Regions from separate parts of the Homo sapiens genome. Here region 2 is linked to region 1. Evidence: promoter capture Hi-C in human tissues and cell types (Jung and others, 2019). All regions are on one chromosome and are shown on one strand. The core of a region is centred on a gene start or on the middle of the fragment in contact, and the rest is flanking DNA. Distances in the headings are between cores, read along the strand shown.

The links. The method cuts DNA at HindIII sites, captures the fragments that hold promoters and counts their contacts. A contact is called where the count stands out against the background at its distance.
Region 2: a contact is called between a fragment that was not itself captured here and the fragment with the promoter of SMYD3 in region 1, in 1 of the 25 tissues and cell types used here (lymphoblastoid cells).

The regions. Positions count from the first base shown.
Region 1 is chr1:246,505,345-246,510,101 of GRCh38, forward strand. SMYD3 (SET and MYND domain containing 3) reads right to left here and starts at 1,935. Exons shown (of 12, transcript NM_001167740.2): 1 at 1,710-1,935. The coding sequence starts at 1,873. RefSeq lists enhancers at 886-1,386, 1,387-1,887 and silencers at 1,573-1,622, 1,893-2,072, 2,562-2,794. The HindIII fragment of the contact is 21,800 bases long and covers 1-4,757 here.
Region 2 is chr1:245,137,550-245,142,306 of GRCh38, forward strand. No RefSeq gene overlaps it. Among named protein-coding and RNA genes, the nearest start is that of KIF26B, 15 kb to the right of the region's middle. The HindIII fragment of the contact is 3,211 bases long and covers 286-3,496 here.

The DNA.
Region 1 (4,757 bases), core at 685-3,184:
TCACTGAGGACTTTGAATAAAAGCCAGTATCACAAAGAAGAATGGTTGAGAGAATCACTCTCCAGCAACAGTGAGTTTCCCAAGGAGCAGCAGCAGCAGCAGCACCAGGGTCCAGTGTCTATGGTGTTCGTGGTACCTACTGCAGAATCCAATATTATCAGGCGACAGAAGTGATATACACCCCAGATCCCAGCCCCAGCTACTTTTGCAGTGCAATCCTAACTTGGTTCAGCCGATGCCCAGTCAAGTCTTGGCAGACTTTAAAGCAACACTGAGAACTCCCCCAAAACTCTTTCATTAAATTCCTTTTTTGCTTAAATCCCCAGTTACTGCAAACAGGAAAAATGAATGAGACTAATGAAATAGTATGGTAAATCAACAAGCATCCCACCCACAAAGGGTTTGTGTAGCTTATTTTGGAAATGCACAATTCCGTGTGTCACAAGACTCAACTTCAGCTCTAATGATTCAATTGCCAATTTGTCACCATTTATTCATTCCAAAACTTTTCTGTTCCAAGAACTATCTTGAAAGGAACGAATTGTTTTCAACCACACAGTTTACAAAAACTTCAAGATGCTGCTCTCTCCCGAACAGATGTTTTCGCTGTTATCATTACTTCAGAAAGCAACAGACAAAATTATTATTTGGTAGCTCTAAAATGCAAAGTCATATTCCTGAATTATGAATCAAATGAGAACAAAGTAAGAACAATGGTCAAATTACAGATACGAGTTTTGCACTTACCGTCCCACCTCCACCCACCTAAATCTCAGACTGGCAGGTCTGAAAAGCGGCCATGCACAAAATCATCGCACTCATCTCAAAATAGAACTCTTCTTCCTCGCACACAGAAGCTCAATAATATTTGTTGACTGAATGCAGTTCCTATTATTCATGTATGTTACACATTTCCATAAATTGCTTTCACATAGCACTTTACACCGGCACAGCGCGTCCAGGCTTCCAAAACACCTTCACGTGAATCCCTGCATCTAGAATGGTGGTTAAGAGTTAGACATGCCTGCACAGCCATTAAATGGCACAGCACACGGGGGACCCGTGTCTGATGCTCCCACAGCACATTAATTGCCCCTCTATTTCAGCCCTTCTGGTACACTGTAATTCTCTCTCTCACTTGATCAGCTCTTTGAGGAGGTCCCGTTCCTCTTCGTATCCCCAGGCCACACACAACCCAGACCACAGAGGTGCACCGTAGACATCAAGATTCTTCCACCTGCTGCAAGCCTGATGCTTTACCGGCGGGGCCTCTGCAGGGGAGCCTGATTTATACTCATCCCAGCTCCCACCCAGCCCCACGCCCGCCACGTGTGATTTCCACAGCCGCACCAAGGAAGACTGTCCAGCACACAGACTTTTCGTCTCCCAGCAAAATTATCCCCGGCACAACGCTTCCCCCTCAAGTCTGCCCAATGGCTTTCCCATTTCCACCGCAGCCCAGGTTGGGGGGCAGTGGCTGAGCCTGGGCCCCCTCCCAGCCCCGCTGCGGCAACCTAGGGGGGTGTCCGGGCGGGGCCTGTCAGCAGCGACCCGCCCCCGGGCACACGCGCGTCAGGGGCAGCACCGCCAAGCTGCCTGTGCAGCCCCATCCAGCAGGAGTCCCGCGGCTGCCGGCCGCCCGACGCCCCCCCCTCCCCAGCACCCCACACAGCTCGCGACTCAGGTAGGCGAGGGCGCTCCTTACGCACCCGAGAAGGCAGCGGTCGCAGACGACGCCACGACTCCCCTTGCACACCGTGTACGCCAAGGGATCCGAGCGGAAGAGTAGCTCTCCGGGGCGCAGCGGGGTCACGGCGCGCAGCCCGTTTCCCCTCTTGGCGGTTGCGAACTTTTCCACCTTCAGCGGCTCCATCCTCCCGCAGCTCCGGCACCTCAGACGGCTACCCGCGTCCAGCAGCGGGCGTCTCACGGGCTGCCGGGACCCGCGCGCCTGCGCCCTGCGCGCACACGTACGCCCGAGGGGCGGGGCGGGCGCGGTGGGGCAAGAGCATGCGCAGATGGAGTCTGGAGGGACGGCTGGAGTGGAGTGTGTGGGACCTGAAGGTGGTCGTAAGGCTCCGCGTGCGGCTCGTGCCCATGGCGACTGCGCAGAAGACAGGCGGGGTTTTTTTTCTCCCTCTAACATTGTATTACGATCATTTTAACGCATACGGAACAGTTGAAAACAGTGCAGTGAACACCTATATACCTCCGCCTAAATCAGACAACCTAGCACTTTGCCATTTCTGCTCGTCACTCTCTCCCCACCTGTAGCTATGTATACACGTATTGTCGTTAAACTATTTCAAAGTTGCAGGCATCATGACATCACAACTAGTACTTTGCACTGTAACTTTTTTTTGTTTTAGGACGGAGTCTTGCTCTGTCGCCCAGGCTGGAGTGCAGTGGCGAGATCTCGGCTCACTGCAACCTCTGACCTCCGGGTTCAAGCGATTCTCCTGCCTCAGCCTCCATAGTAGCTGGGACTACAGGCATGTGCAATCCTCCCGCCTGGGCCTCCTGACTAGATGGGACTATAGGCTCACGCCACCATGCCTGGCTAATGCTTTTTACTTTCCTCCAGAGACAGTCTACCTATGTCGCCCAGGCTAGTCGCAAACTCCTGGCCTCAAGTGAACCTGAACCTCCTGCCTCGACCTCTCGAATTGCTGGAATTACAGGTGTGAGCCACCACACCCAGCTTAATTTTCTTTTTTGTTTTTGGGGTTTGTTTTGTTTTGTTTTGTTTTTTGAGACGGAGTCTCATTCTCGCCCAGGCTGGAATGCAGTGGTACGATATTGGCTCACTGCAACCTCTGCCTCCCGGGTTCAAGCGATTCTCCTGCCTCAGCCTCTTGAGTAGCTGGGACTACAGGCGCCTGCCACCACGCCCGGCTAATTTTTGTATTTTTAGTAGAGACGAGGTTTCACCGTGTTAGCCAGGATGGTCTCGATCTAACCTTGTGATCCGCCCGCCTCGGCCTCTCAAAGTGCTGGGATTACAGGCGTGAGCCACCGCGCCCAGCCCACCCGGCCTAAATTTCTTAGTTTGGACAAACGTGCCATGGTAATGCAAAATGTCATTATTAAGGGCAGCTGGATGGAAGGTGTAGGAGTACACTATAGTGCCTTTCAATTTTTCTGTGTATCTAAAGTCATTTCAAAAGTAAACATTTATTTTAAAACATGAAGGTGGTTATGCTTCCATGAGTGTAAAGTACAAAAGGCAGGCTCGTGGTGCTGTCAGAAGTCAGAACACTGGTTTCAGGGCTGGGGGTGTTGGGAGGGGCTGGGCATGGTTGGCTTTGTGATCTGGGGGCTGGTGTGTTCCATCTGTGAATATCTTTTAAGCTGTGCACTTACCAGGGATGTAAGTCATATCTTAATAAATTTTCATAAGTTTGACAAAAAATAAAATGAGGATGGGAAGCTTGTTTGGGTTGTGGGGCCTCGGGTGCTTATCCAGCCATGAGCTGTGTCCCAGATGCTTCTAGAAGCCTGGAGGGAGCTGAGAACATTCCAAGTCGAGGTGGCAGAGCCAAGGCCCTGAGGTGGGAGCGCAATGCTGCACATCCCCAGCTGTGAATGGGGTGTCCTGGTCAGAAGCAGTGCTGTGTGCACTGCAGGGCCGGCAAATCCACGTCCACATTGTGGCTTGGTGCAGTGAAAGCCAATCTCAGCCCCCTCCACAGTGTGATTAGCCTGCCAGCAGGTGGCCAGCTGGTCCTCCTGGGAAATGGTGCCAACCCAGAGACTGGGTGCAAGTGTCTCATCCACGGAGGGGCGCTCAGCAGTGGTGTCAGCCTGGTGAGCCTCGGTAAGGGCACGTGCAGGATGCTGAGCCTCTTCCGTTCCCATGCCCGTCTCAAGGCCACTTGCTCCGTGGGCCCATCCAGCAAGCATGGTGGCCAGGAAAGAAGCCGGCTCCATTCACAGGGCGTGCTGTTTTGCTCACCTCAGGACCAAGAGCATCCTCCATAGTGATTCTCTTTGGTGGGAGCACTAGAAACATGAACCACAGATACCTTCAGCGTCTGAGCCGCTGAGGCGAGGGCTGCAGGACACCCTGCTGTCGGGAAACCCTGCACTGGCGGCTGGAAGGCATGTGGTGGTGGCGCCTGCTGTGGCTGCAGCAGTTGCTGCGAGGCTTCGGGATCTCGCCGGCCCCTGCGAGGTGAATTGTGACAGTGCAGAGCTCCGTGGTACCAGGGCCCCCTGCATGGCCATGCTGACTGCAGCTGGGAGCCCACCACACCTCTGGTTCCCCGCTCTTCCCAGGGCTGGGGTCTAGGCCAGGCCCCTCTTGGCCTGCGAATTGTGCCCTGGGAGGGGGACACTGTTCCACAGGTTGGGACCAAGGACCCAGGGCATGCTACTGGCTGGCTGGGCTGCAGGGATGCCATGCTCACCTTTCTCTCTCATGGCCTTGACGGGACCGGCTTCCTCATTGAACAGCATTTTCCAAGGTGTCTGGGATTGCTGGTGGGGTGCCACCCTGGCTCCTTCTAGGCATGCCCGTCATTGGCCACCAAGGGGGCCAGATGCAGGTGCCCATGCTGCTGTGGGGGCATCTCCCAACTTCCCTCTTAGTCCTGATGGGCCTAGGCAGGGCCTGATATGGGGGTCCCCATGGGCTTCCGGGGCTAAGCCTGCCCCATGGTCCCAGGGCTGTCCAGGACACATTCAGAAGGGACATGAGCTCAGCAGCTCTGTTTGAAATTATTATGGAACCAAGGGCCCCCCACATCCAAGTCCAC
Region 2 (4,757 bases), core at 641-3,140, 1.4 Mb before region 1:
CCACCACCAGTTACAGGAAAAACAACAAGTTTCAGAACCTGCAGAAACCATTGCCAGGGTCACATTTGCCTGCAGTACCAAGGTGGGATTCACTGGGGAAATGCTCAAATGCCAAGGCAAACTCATGCTTGCCGTGTTTGCCACCTGTTGAAGGGGGAGCAGCAAGCCGGCTTGCCTCTCTTCTATTTTCCAAATTTCACTCGAGTGCCTCTCAGCGGCCCAATCTAAGTTGGAATGCTCCTAGTTGGTATACTGGGAAATATAGTCCCCAGGCTTTCTACTCCCCAGTACAGAGCTGGCACACCAGAGTGGAGAACCAGCCGACGACCCAGCAGAGGCAGAAGATGCCACCCTGTGTTCTCTTCTTGCTTCCCCCCAAGTTATCCTTTTTGTGGGAAGAGACTCTCCAAGAAAGAGATCAATGATGCAGATGAATTTCAAGGATTGAGGTCTGTCAGATTTCAGAGTCCACATGTGGAGGGAATGTCTACCTTAAATTACCAAAAGGTAATGATTATAGCTTAAGTGTATTGAGCTGTACTATGTGTCCAGTACTATTCTAAGCCTTTCATATAAATTACCGAATTTAGTCCTCATGAGGCAAGCATTATTATTCATCCTCATTTTATTTTATTTTATTTCATTTCTTTTTTTCTGAGACAGAGTCTCACTCTGTCACCCACGCTGGCATGCAGTGGTGCAATCTCAGCTCACTGCAACCTCTGCCTCCTGGGTTCAAGCGATTCTCGTGCCTCAGCCTCCCAAGTAGCTGAGACTACAGGTGCACGCCACCACGCCCAGTTAATTTTTGTGTTTTTAGTAGAGATCAGGTTTCGTCGTGTTGGCCAGACTGGTCTGGAACTCCTGACCTCAGGTGATCCACCTGCCTCAGCCTCCTAAAGTGCTGGGATTACAGGAGTGAGCCACTGTGCCCAGTCTTCATCCTCATTTTATAGATGAGGAAAGAGAAAGTGGAGGCTAAGTATCTTGCCCAAGGTTGCATAGCTAGAAAGCTGTGGGGCCACATTTTCAACCCTGGCTTTCTGACTTTGGAGCCTGAGCTTCTAAACATTAGATTACATTCCCCCTCCCCCATAAAGGGGTGGAAACACCAGTTCTGGGCATCTCAGCTACAAGAGCATACATGAAGGAAAGGCTTTAAACGTCTATGTAAATTTGTCAATAACATAAAAATAAAGATGACCTGAATGTAGCACTTGGGAGGTCAAAACAGAAGCCATGAGTAGGTCTCAAGAAGTATGTTGCTCTGGGTCAGGGAATCCTGCAACAGCAAAGTCGCTTGTTCACTGTGGCACGGAGAGGGGTAAGTAGGGAGAAGTGTGGCTTGCAACTTGGAATTCGAACCCTTTCCCTGCCACACTAACTTCTTTGGTGGTGTTGGCATATCATTTAGGCTTTTTGTATTTTGGGGCTTCTCACAGTTCTAAGTGAAATAACGATGTTAACTTTATCCAGAGAAGAATATGGGGGAAGTCCTAATCACTTAGTATAAATTATTCTGAAAACCAAACTGCTAAAGCATAATGCTCTATGCTGGCAGAGAAGTGAATATTGCACTAGAGAATCTTCCAGGTGTCATTTAAAATTCAACAGTGATGGGCCTCCAGTAACTAAGGAAGATGACTTCACAGTCTGCTAGATTTTACGGTCATTGTTTTCACCTTGAAAGCTTGCCTACACTTTCTTAATTTTAATTTAAATCCATCCCTCCTTTGAAACCTCCTAAACTAGGTGTGTTTCTCTCTTTGTTCTCACCCCTAGACATGGACTTCCTGAAAACAGTCTTGTTTTACCAGTTATTTTTAGATTTTATACATATTCTAGTTGCTTCAGTCTTCACTTTGAAGCCATCCCTTCTAAGTTGTTTAATTACTGTGATCATACACTACATTTATCTTTCGGGCAATAAGATGTTCAGAACAGAATGCAATATTTTAGATTAAGTTTCAGGCTGGGTGCGGTGGCTCACGCCTGTAATCTCAGCAGTTTGGGAAGCCGAGGTGGATGGATCATGTGAGGTCAGGAGTTTGAGACCAGCCTGGCCAAGATGGCAAAACCTCATCTCTACTAAAAATACAAAAATTAGCCAGGCATGGTGGTGGGTGCCTGCAGCGCCAGCTACTTGGGAGGCTGAGGCAGAAGAATTGCTTGAATCTGGGCGGCAGAGGTTACAGTGAGCTGAGATTGCGCCACTGCACTCCAGCCTGGGCAACACAGGGAGACTCTGTCTCAAAAAAAAAAAAAAAAGAAAAAGTTTCAACTGAGCTATTTCACATGAAAGCAACGCACTAGATTCATGATACATACTGAGTTCCTCCATATACCTGTAACCAGAGCCACACCCAGTGCTGTGCTGAGTGTTAGGGACACAAAGATTAAGGACCTGGCTACCAGCCTCAAGGAGCTTAGAGTCGAATGGTTATAATGCACAGATTTTTGAACCCTTAAATGGGTGTCTCAAATCTTGAGTCAGAGCTCTGTAATTAGCAATCATTTTGCACCTTAGCTCTGCACAGTGGGTTTAGAACTCTTCAGGAGTAATCAATTTAATAGAGAAAAGAGGGCAAATAAAAACACAAATGGATAGCACGTGCATAGCTATATTGTTAGTGATTAGGGAAGATCAGATTGCAGTCCCAGAGGGACTGTGAAGAGTGTCATGGATCAGTGGGACTCATCGAGAGACGCTTCCTGCAGGAAGTAGGCCTCCCTTAATGTAGCAAAAGTTTACATTATTTCTGAACATTAATTATGTAATTAATTACATAATTAATTTCATTAATGTAAATTATTCATTTACATAACTAATGTAAATTAAAGTTTACATTAACTACATTTAATTAATGTAAATTAAAGTTTACATTAATTCCATTATCTCTTGCCTGTCTTTAGGGAGAACTGCTTTATTTATTTATTAAAATTTTATTTTATTTCAAATTGAGGGGGTACATGGGCATGCTTGTTACGTGGGTACATTGTATACTGGGCTTCTAGTGTACACATTACCCAGAGAGTGAACATCATACCTGATGGGTACATTTTCAACCCTTGCTCCCTGCAAGTCCCTGCCCACCCACTTTGGAGGCCACGTGTCCACTGTTTCCATCTTCATGTCCATGTGGACTCACTGTTTTGCCTCCACTTACAAGTGAGAACACGCAGTTTTGATTTTCTGTCTCTGAGTTAGTTCCTTAGGATAATGGCCTCCAGCTCCATCCATGTCACTGCAAAGGACATGATCTCATGCTTTTGTATGGCTGTTTTTTTTGTTTTTTTTTTGAAGAGATAGTCTCACTATGTCGATGAGGATGAAGTGCAGCGGCATGATCATAGCTCACTGCAGCCTCGAATTCCTGGGCTCAAGAGATCATCCCACCTTAGCCTCCTGAGTAGCTGGGATGATAGATGTACACCACAACTGGCTAATGAAAAAAAAAAAAAATTGGCTGGGCGCAGTGGCTCACGCCTGTAATCCCAGCACTTTGGGAGGCCGAGGCGGGTGGATCATGAGGTCAGGAGATCAAGACCATCCTGGCTAACACGGTGAAACCCCGTCTCTACTAAAAATACAAAAATTAGCTGGGCATGGTGGCGGGCGCCTGTAGTCCTGGCTACTTGGGAGGCTGAGGCAAGAGAATCGCTTGAACCCGGGAGGCGGAGGTTGCAGTGAGCTGAGATTGGTCCACTGCAATCCAGCCTGGGTGACAGAGCAAGACTGTCTCAAAAAAAAAAAAAAAATAGCAATGTGGTTTTAGGATGCTGCCCAGGCTGGTCTCAAATTCCTGGCCGCAAGCAATCCTCCTGCGTCAGCCTCCCGAAGTGTTGGGATTACAGGTGTGATCCACTGCACCTAGCCAAGAACTGCTTTCCAAATGTCTACCATGCAGAGTCAGGGTCATTGTCTCCGTGAGTAGGAAGTTTGATGTTTTGGCTTGCCTTCATGCCTTTGATTTTCTCATACTTTTGAGACTCCATATTTTCACACTTTATTTTCCCTTCTGCAGGTGTGTTGGCAACACCTCTCGATTTAGCTCATCCCTGCATTTTATCTGTTGCTTTTTATTCCCCCTTAAAGAACATTAAGATGAGAGCTAAGGCCAGAGCCAGTGCTGGTGTCAGGCCTCCCTTCCTGGGGCCTGTGGGTCACATGTCACAATTTGTGGCCTAGAGCATTTGGTTGTGTTTTCAATCCATGCACCTGTGTTCTTCTGGGAGCTGAGATTTGCTAAGATTCGCTACAGTGAAAGTTTTATCTAAGTAAACATCTCTCACCTCTTTTGGGGACTTTTCATCTGTGGAATGAGTGAAACGGTCCAAAGGTGATCAAGTACGCAAGACAGCCTCCTCTCTCTAGGACCTGGATCTTCCTCGCTCCTCATTCTCATGAACCATTAGTGGGTTTTTTTTCTTCTTTCTCTTAGGACATGGTCACAGTTGTGTGCAGCAGTGAAGCTGGACATAAGAGAGCACAGCCAAACTGGGGCTGTGGGGTGTTTCCTCTCACCTGTTCTTCACCTGTTCTTGCCCACTCAGAGCATTGTGGCCCCTGGCTTTTATTACTGCTTCTTTAGTTGCCTGAGATGCAGTCTTCATTGGGAGGAGCTTGAAAAGAACTCACTAGCAGGACCTAGTGCACAGCAGGCATTTAATAATGATTTGTCTTCGGCTCTCTCTGCAACCTTGTGAGTGGCATTGCACCCTGCAGCCTGCTGTTACACACAGAGTCAGATTAGCTA